Regions from separate parts of the Homo sapiens genome. Here region 2 is linked to region 1. The links are contacts of gene promoters, found by promoter capture Hi-C in human tissues and cell types (Jung and others, 2019). All regions are on one chromosome and are shown on one strand. Each heading gives the region's core, a stretch centred on a gene start or on the middle of the fragment in contact. The rest is flanking DNA. Distances are from core to core; before and after follow the strand shown.

The links. The method cuts DNA at HindIII sites, captures the fragments that hold promoters and counts their contacts. A contact is called where the count stands out against the background at its distance.
Region 2: a contact is called between a fragment that was not itself captured here and the fragment with the promoter of HPGD in region 1, in 3 of the 25 tissues and cell types used here (liver, pancreas and small bowel).

Annotation. Positions count from the first base shown.
Region 1 is chr4:174,521,238-174,523,737 of GRCh38, reverse strand. HPGD (15-hydroxyprostaglandin dehydrogenase) reads left to right here and starts at 1,250. Exons shown (of 7, transcript NM_000860.6): 1 at 1,250-1,379; 2 at 1,671-1,794. The coding sequence starts at 1,287. It overlaps LOC105377548 (a long non-coding RNA gene), which reads right to left and starts at 1,125. Exons shown (of 7, transcript XR_007058492.1): 1 at 609-1,125; 2 at 317-353. The HindIII fragment of the contact is 5,489 bases long and covers 1-2,500 here.
Region 2 is chr4:174,633,027-174,639,527 of GRCh38, reverse strand. It overlaps GLRA3 (glycine receptor alpha 3), which reads left to right. Exons shown (of 10, transcript NM_006529.4): 10 at 1-2,608. It overlaps LOC105377551 (a long non-coding RNA gene), which reads right to left. Exons shown (of 4, transcript XR_939494.3): 4 at 4,227-4,817. Among named protein-coding and RNA genes, the nearest start is that of HPGD, 110 kb to the right of the region's middle. The HindIII fragment of the contact is 4,732 bases long and covers 403-5,134 here.

The DNA.
Region 1 (2,500 bases), core at 1-2,500:
TTTCCCAGTAAAGAAGGTAAAGAAGATATAAAAATGATTCATTCTGCTGTTAGTGTCAGTCTTTTGCTCAACTCCCATTTCCCCCAAGTATTTAGATTTTTTTTTTCTTTAAGAAAATAAATGCCAGCTGGGCATAGTGGCTCATGCCTGTAATCTTAGCACTCTTTGGGAGTCCAAGGTGGGAGGGTCGCTTGAGCCCTGGAGATTGAGGTTGCAGCGAGCTGGGATTATGCCACTGCATTCTAGCCAAACAGACAGAGCGAGATCTTGTCTCAAGATTAAAAAAAAAAAAAAAAAAAAAAAGCCAACCACTTACGTTTACAGAATTAAAATTGCAGCCTGCCGCTGACAACCTGAGAAAAAGAGACAAAGTCAGTGGAATAGCCCTTGTTATTTATGCAAGTCCGCATACAGCTAGCCCTGGAGTTCCTGGAGAGCAAGGAACCTCTGTCCCAAACTTGACTCAGAGCTTCCAAAGTTGGTGTATTTCAACAAGTAAGCATTCCATTGAGCCAACAATTTGGTAGGCTACCAGCGGCTCTGGAGCGCCTGTTGATGATGACAGTTTTTGTGGGGGCATCTCAATATGACACACAATTGACACTGACCAGAAACACAGCGCCAAGGACACTCTAGTCCTAGCCATGAAATGTTATGATTCCAGGTTTTCAGGACAGAGCAGAGTCCACTTCTCATCTCCAGTATCCGTAAAAATTTGTCCAAAATGTAACTAAGAAAACACAATGATATTAGTTACTTCTGCTCCCCGTCACCCTCAACCCCACTGATTACGAGATGGGAACTCACACAAAACTTTGAGACAAAAGAGCAACAAGTTTGCTTTATTGTTTGCTTGTTTTGTTCCGGAGTCGGGGCCGGGAGGGAGTGCAGGAGGAGGGATCCAAGCTTCCAAGCCTCTGCTCCGCTCTCCTTCTATCCAGTTGGTCTTTAGGGCACTGAAGGAAACTCTTCTTCAGAAATAACCTTTTAACTTTTCTTCTGTCAGCTGCCTGCCAATCACGGAGCCAGAGGCTGAGGGGAGGCTTTGAGCCGGTCTGCGAGTCCGGAAGGCAAAGATCGCGAAGCTTGGCGCTCCAGAACGCTCAGGGGGCAGGTGACACAGTCGTGGGTTCCCCGGCGGGCGCTGGCTTGACAGTTTCCTCCCCGCCCACTGGCAGGGGAGCGCCCCGCCGGGCTGCACGCGCGCGCGCGCAGGGGGGCATAAAAGCCGCGGCCGCGCGGAGACGCGGAGCTCGCCCACCGCCCGCCCCAGCAGTGGCTGCACCATGCACGTGAACGGCAAAGTGGCGCTGGTGACCGGCGCGGCTCAGGGCATAGGCAGAGCCTTTGCAGAGGCGCTGCTGCTTAAGGGCGCCAAGGTAAGCCCGGCGCCCAGCCGCGGAAATTTCTCTGCCCACACACTCCGAGACTCGCCCCGCCGCCCGAGGTGCACTGGCGGAGACAGGGAGGCCGCGCCCGGCGTGCCCACTTTGCCACTTCCAAAATTTGCTGAAGCTGAGGCTGTGAGCACACCTCAGAAGTGGCTGGGAGGGAACCCAAACCTAATTGCCAAATTTCAGGTCCAGGAGGGGAGCCTCTTGTGTGTTTATTGTTTGTCCGTCTATTTCGTGAGCTGCGCAGGCCCGCGATTCCTCTCCTCTTGTCTATAGGTAGCGCTGGTGGATTGGAATCTTGAAGCAGGTGTACAGTGTAAAGCTGCCCTGGATGAGCAGTTTGAACCTCAGAAGACTCTGTTCATCCAGTGCGATGTGGCTGACCAGCAACAACTGAGAGGTAAGACAGGGGAATCAATCTGTCAACTGGGAACGTGCTCTCAACAAGCAACAACCTGAAGGCAGCCCGGCCAGGGGGCCCTGGGTGCCGCCTCCGCTGCCTCCTCGAGAGCAGCTACCTTGAAGCTCCAAAAGACAGTTTGGACTGATACGTTTCCTTCTGACAGCCCAATAGCTGTAAAACCGAAAGAAAGGCAAGACTGCTGGAGAAATCCTTTTATTGTAGTCATTTGGCAGCATTAATGTAATCAAAATTCCTTTATGTATTCAAAGACAGTGCTGCTGCAGTAATTATTAAATGATTGAAATTGCAGACAAAACTTGGAAAATTAAAGTAGGTTAAGTAAGGTACTGTTGACAAACAACTTCTCCCAGAAAGCTGGAGTCCAATGACAATCAAATGTGGCAGTGTTTTTCGTTTAAACATATCAGAATACAAGTTCAAGGAGCATCATCACAGAAGTGCTAGATGCTTTTGACCATATGTTTTCTCCGGCTTTTTCCCCAATGAGACAGTACTTTAAAATAATAATAATAGTAATCATAATAAAGTATACAATGTTAGAATTGTAGTAGAAACATCTCTATCAGCCTTTCCTCAATGCTTTCCTGTTTCCGGCTACTCACTTAAAATAGACCAATCTACTTGTGAAGTATCAGGGACAATATTGGCATACACAATAAACAGCTTTGATTATAAAGCTGTT
Region 2 (6,501 bases), core at 1,519-4,018, 110 kb before region 1:
GACAAGAGATATAATCCCAAGTTAGTAGCTAGGACCCACTTACCTGTTTTTTTGGTCTACATTTTACATCTTAATAATGCCTTCATCTCTTCCCTTTCCCTCTCTCTCTCTCTCTTTCACACACACACACACACACACACACACACACACACACATACACATATTGGTAATGAGATGAATTCCTTTAGATTAAAAATACAAAGACAGTCAATTTTTCTAGACAAAGGTTCATAATCCTGTGATATGTTTTGCAATATTAAGTGATTCCTGGTGGAAAATATGAACCATGCAGTCATTCGATTTGGCCAGCTCTTAATCATGCAACAATCTTTTGCCTCAAAAACACATAAACAAAGCTAACTGGATCAAGTCTTTAACCCTTAACAATCGAATTCTAAAACACTATTTGAACCGTTTTTGAAGAACAGCTAAATAACTGTCAAAAACCTTTTTCAAAAGACAGCTAGTAATATTGGATGACTTTGTAGTGTCTGAACAGGTGGTTTTCTCAGTAGTTTTTGTGGTTAACACATAAACAAAGAGGAGACATTTAAGGTGATGGAGTATTATTTTTAAAAAGTGATTTTGAACCCTGGCTATGTGTTGGAATTCCTTACACATTTTAAAAATACATACATATGCTTGGTGTCCAACATAGAAGATTATGATTTAATCATTGATTAAACAAATATTCATTGAGTACCTTATGTGTGCCTGGCACTGTCCCAAGTGCTAAATTTAGTATTTTTGGAATAAGATCTGAAATTCTGGATGATTGAAAAAATTCCAGAAGTGAGAGAATTCGTGTGAACTTACACAAGCTTATTCTCTTAATAAGGATCAATTTAACACTTTTTAAGTTTTATCATTTTTTCTTTCTTCAAGCAACTAATTTTAGTTGTCTCTCATTTATATTCTTAGAATTAAAAATAGGCCCGGCCAGGTGGCTCACGCCTGTAATCCCAGCACTTTGGGAGGCCGAGGCAGTCAAATCACTTGAGGTCAGGAGTTAAGACACCAGCCTGGCCAATATGATAAAACCCTGTCTCTACTAAAAATACAAAAATTAGCCAGGCATGATGGCAGGTGCCTGTAATCCCAGTTACTCAAGGGAGGCTGAGGTGGAAGAATGGCTTGAGCCCAGGAGATGGAGGTTGCAGTGAGCCAAGATCGCACCACTGCACTCCAAACTGGGTGACAGAGTGAGACTCTGTCTCACAAACAAACAGACAGACAAAAAAAGAATTTAAAATAAATCTTTGATGCGTTTCAATTCAGCTTTCCTCCCAATGTCAGAATCTTCACCATTACATTATCCACATTCTTCGAGCACCCAGATAGCAACAGGTAGCTCATTACTCTGAGGGCAGTCTTCTGTTCCATTGTGACATAACTCTAGATGATAAAAATGTTAATCTTCATCAAGAAATGACTTTTACTTCCTAAAATACCAAGTAAGTTTATTCCCCTCCTATAAGACAACTAGCATATATTTTCACATTTCTGCTGTCTGTGTTTAAGTTCAATCAACCCCTTATCACTAGCTTTATTCTTATTTAAACCATTCATGAGAGCATTGTAAGTGTTAAACAATGATGAGATATTTTCAGGCTTATAAAATAATGAAATATAAAATTAATTATCTACATAGATAAATAGAAATTGATGAAAATTTCTATGTATATTATTTTCAGTAACTGTTAATGTCTTCCTATAACAGCAATAAATTTAAATTAAATATTTTTAAATTTATTTCAGATATGAAGATATTATATAAAACTCTACAAAGTAATATGAATTTAAAAAAACTAGCAGCAAACCATATTAACCATATTGTGTGTTTTTAGAGTAAAGCTATAACAAAAGTACAGGGGATTAAGTTGTTTTATTTTAATAGCTGCTTTTACTCTGGGGTGGTTTTAGCAATGGCGCCTTTGGGCAACCCCGCTCACATACACAGTATCCAGCCTGGGTGGTTAATACTAGGGAGCTGTGACTTAAATGGCAGGAAAGGATTCAGATGTAAAATTGTACTTGAATATGCTTGAATAATTTTGCACTTCTTCACTTTTTTCTCTATGAATTATTCAATGGTCATTACTTAAATTTGTATTTTAATGTATGATAAATGATAATATGGGGGGGGAAATAGAGTGAAGTACCCTGACATTCTACAGATATAATATGATATGCTATGAAAAACAAAACAAAAAGAAAATGTGCCATATATTTTCCATGTACCATCTTTATATGATATACAGTGACTTCATTATTAGTGAGTCAAGTTGTTTAAAGGACTACCAAAAGAAGTATTGCTATTTTATGGTTTTTATGGTGTAAATTATTTTTCTGTCTTCTTGAGTCTTATGTCTAAGTCTGTCTTCCTTGTCCAGATGCTGTCATATTTTTCCAGGAAATTATACTGAAAACATATTTAAAAATTTATGCACGATTTCATCAACTTGTTTTTCATTATATTATATTTAGTTCAATTTTGCAACTAACAGACTCTCTATCAGAGTCATTAACCTGTGAACAGTATAAAGTATTTAACATGTAACTATAGATAATTTGATCCGAAACAATAAAAATGAACACTTTTCAAGAATATGGATACCTCTTTTGTCTAATTTTTTTAAAGACCAGATTTTACCAAAGAATCATGTTGTCTTCCTGACAAAAGTCATGCTACATTCCTGTTCTCATGGAAACTATTACATCTAGGATTACAAAGTCAGTGATATATCATTCAGAGAAGTCTTAATATATGCATTTCATTATAGGAAAAGCACAATGAGAAGGATGGTGAATGGAACTTTTCTACTAAGGATAGAATGAGAGAAGAAGTATTACTAACTAGAAAAATGATTTGGCATTAGTGTATTTGTAGTTTTTGTTTGTTTGAAAGACTTCTTAAAATCTGTTTATTGAATAAACCACTTTCACTTGACTTACCCATAGAGACTATTTCAAAATGGAATACTGATGTTTTTTTAAACCTATAATTTCATCTTTCTTTTTTCCTCCACAGAGTTAGACTGGAGTTTAGTGATAGAATAGTAGTAAACAAATAGGAATTGTTTTTTTTTTTGAGACGGAGTCTCGCTCTGTCACCCAGGCTGGAGTGTAGTAGTGCGATCTCAGCTCACTGCAACCTCCGCTTCCCGGGTTCAAGCAATTCTCCTGCCTCAGCCTCCCAAGTAGCTGGGGCTACAAGTGCCCGCCACCATGCCCGGCTAATTTTTTGTATTTTTGGTAGAGATGGGGTTTCACCGTGTTAGCCAGGATGGTCTCGATCTCCTGACCTCATGATCCGCCCCCCCTCGGCCTCCAAAAATACTTGGCCTCCAAAAATACGCCCGGCCAAGAAATTTAAGAAAATATTACTATTTGGTGTGTGATAATTAGTCTATCATTTTTAAAGTACCTATAATTTATATGTAATAGTGTTTGACACTTTTATATATTGACTGGCACAAAGTTCAGGAAAAAAACTTAGATTGAAAATTCCTTGCTAAATCAGCATGATGATTTTCTTCAGTAAGCTGGCCTTCACTAATTGCTTATGTGGTTCATATCATGACATCAGCAAAAACTCTGTACTGAAATACTGCCATAGAATCAGTCCAGGTCATCTGTAAGTACAAGTGTTAGCGATATCTATAGGTAATGGATCCCTAAACAAAATGTATAGGAATAAATGTAATGTGACCACACTAAGAATGGAAAGAAGCTTATTGGTAAACTGTGATTAATTAAGTCAATTTATACTACTATGGTTTAAAATACTTTCATTACTCTCATGATATTCATCATTTTCCATATCACTACATTGGTTATTTTTCTTTACATAGTTTATTTCAATATACTCTTGCTGACAGTTGCTTTCTGCCTTGATAAACTGATTTTCTAAATATATTCCTTCTTTGTAATTTTGTGTAATTTGCATTTTTAAATACGCATTCATTGGAATCCTAAATTGAATTAGACCATATTTACTGAACTATACTATAAATATTTAGTTTGTTTTTATGTTTCTTTATATTTGTATATTTGACCCCATGTGTTGTCTTATCAGGTTATCTCTGTTGATGCTCTTTATCCAACATTGTACTGCTCTGACAGTATTTAAAAATTCACTTGGGCAAACTGTTAACTGGAAGCTGGGTTGTGAACAGAAGCTGGCACTGTGAAAGAAAAGCAGAGCTGGACATAAGTTAAAGCAGTGAAGGCAAATTTTATTCAGGAACTATTGCACTGGGGACAGAGAGACCTCAGTATAGAACGGGGCTGCATTCTGAATACCAGGATAAGTGGGGATTTTGGATAAGTGATGGTCAGTGGGTGGAAAATTACTAGAGAGGAAACCTCGAAGGGATTCTGGCTAAACTGACTTAGCAAAATTCTTGCTGAATGCAGCCAGGGTGATAAGATACTGAATGTGGGGGGGATAAGAAATTTGATTAGATATCAAAGATAAGGGATTTTCGTTAAACTGAACCAGCAGAATTCTTGCCTAATTGAACTAACTAGGCCAAGAACAGAACCCAAGTTGGGGCCTAATCAAAAAGGGATCTCAGAGGAGTATGACCAGAGCGTGGTCCAGGAGAGAATCCTATCATCATCTATAGCCCATTCTGTGACATGAGGAATGAATTGTCTGAACACTTGTTCTTCAAACAATGAAGGAATACTAGTTAAAATGCATGTGACATTCACTCACAGTTCTGTAACCTAATGGCTCTTGATCTTCCAAACTGGTCTCTGTTCTTAAGCCGTTACAAAATCTCTATTTTGATGTCAGGTTCCTTTTCTTTCTGGGGGAAAAAAATAACTCTTCTAAATGATCTGTTACAGAAATAAGTATGTTTATAGAGTCTTATTTAAATGACTTCTCCCTCCCCAAAAAGCAAATTCCTACAGATTGACCTTGTTTGAAATACTTATTCTGTGGAAGATCAAGCTTACAGGTATAACATTGAATTTCCTAAGTGGCTAATCAAAGAAAATTGGAATGAAATATAAATCAAAAACAATAAATTTATTAAAATTGCCAAATTATTTGACAGATAATAGAAAATCCAAAAGCACAAATTTATTTTTAATTGCCAGAAAGTTAAAGAAGATTGATAATAAATTATTAGATCCTTTCTAAGAAACACTGCTTTACTCTATCACATTTTATTTGATAAATACCAGAATTGAAGCTGGGTGCTTCCTTTGTTCTCCTCTTTATCATCAGCAAATTTTTTGAGTCGCCACATTATTAGGCCATGAAAACTTCAATGGGTAACAAACAGAAAAGCTTCCTCCACTTTCAGGAGCAAAGCAAAACAGGAAATAATCTGCAGGAACCGTGTGTCATAGACAAGAGTTTTCTTTTATTTTCACTTTAGGTTAGTAATTCTCCTGGGTAATCAATAATCTCTAAGCAAGAATCAGTCTTTTCTAAAGTGATGGAACTTATATTGATGCATTGCATATAGTGGATTGAAATATCCTTCCAACTTAGGTGATTAATTTGTGTTTTTTCCTTCTTGAATGAAAAAGAATATGAGAAACAAATGAACATGTTATGTTATTTGCAATTTACTTTAAATCAAATATATTAGAATCCATTTACTGTTGCGAATTGGTTATATTTGAAATATCTTTTTATATTATCTGTGAACATTAATGAAAATGCTGGGGTAAATGAAAAAAGATGAAATTTCAAGTCACCAAATATACAACTAGGGAAATTATGTTCATATGCCTTATTCACCTAATGGATAATATAATTTCATTTCTGAAAAGAAACTTTAAAAAGTAATATTAATGTGCTAGTATAAGTCATGAGTTGCTTAATGACAGGAATATGTTCTAAGAAATGTGTCATTAGATGATTTGTCATTGTGTAAACACCATAGGGTGTATTTCTATATACCTACATGGGATAGACCACTACATCTAGGCTAGAGTATATGGGATAGTCTGTTGCTTCTAGGCTACAAACCTGTACAGCATGTTACTATACTGAATAGTGCAGACAACTGTAATACGATGGTAAGTATTTGTGTTTCTAAACATATGTAAGCATAGAAAAGGTACAATAAAAATATAGAATAAAAGGTAAAATGCAGTACACCTATATAGGGCATTTAACTTGAAAGGAGCCTGCAGACTGGAAGTTGCCCTGAGTAAGTGGTGAGTGAGTATGAAGTCCTAGGATATTATTACACTACTGTTGACCTTTTTTTTTTTTTTTTTTTTTTTGAGATGGAGTCTCGCTTTGTAGCCCAGGCTAGAGTACAGTGGCGTGATCTCAGATCACTGCAACCTCTGCCTCCCGGGTTCAAGCAATTCTCCTTGCCTCAGCCTCCTGAGTACCTGAGATTACAGGCGCCCACGACCATGCCCAGCTAACTTTTGTATTTTTTAGTAGAGATGGGATTTCACCACATTGGGCAGGCTGGTCTTGAACTCCTGACCTCAGGTGATCCATCTGCTTTGGCCTCCTAA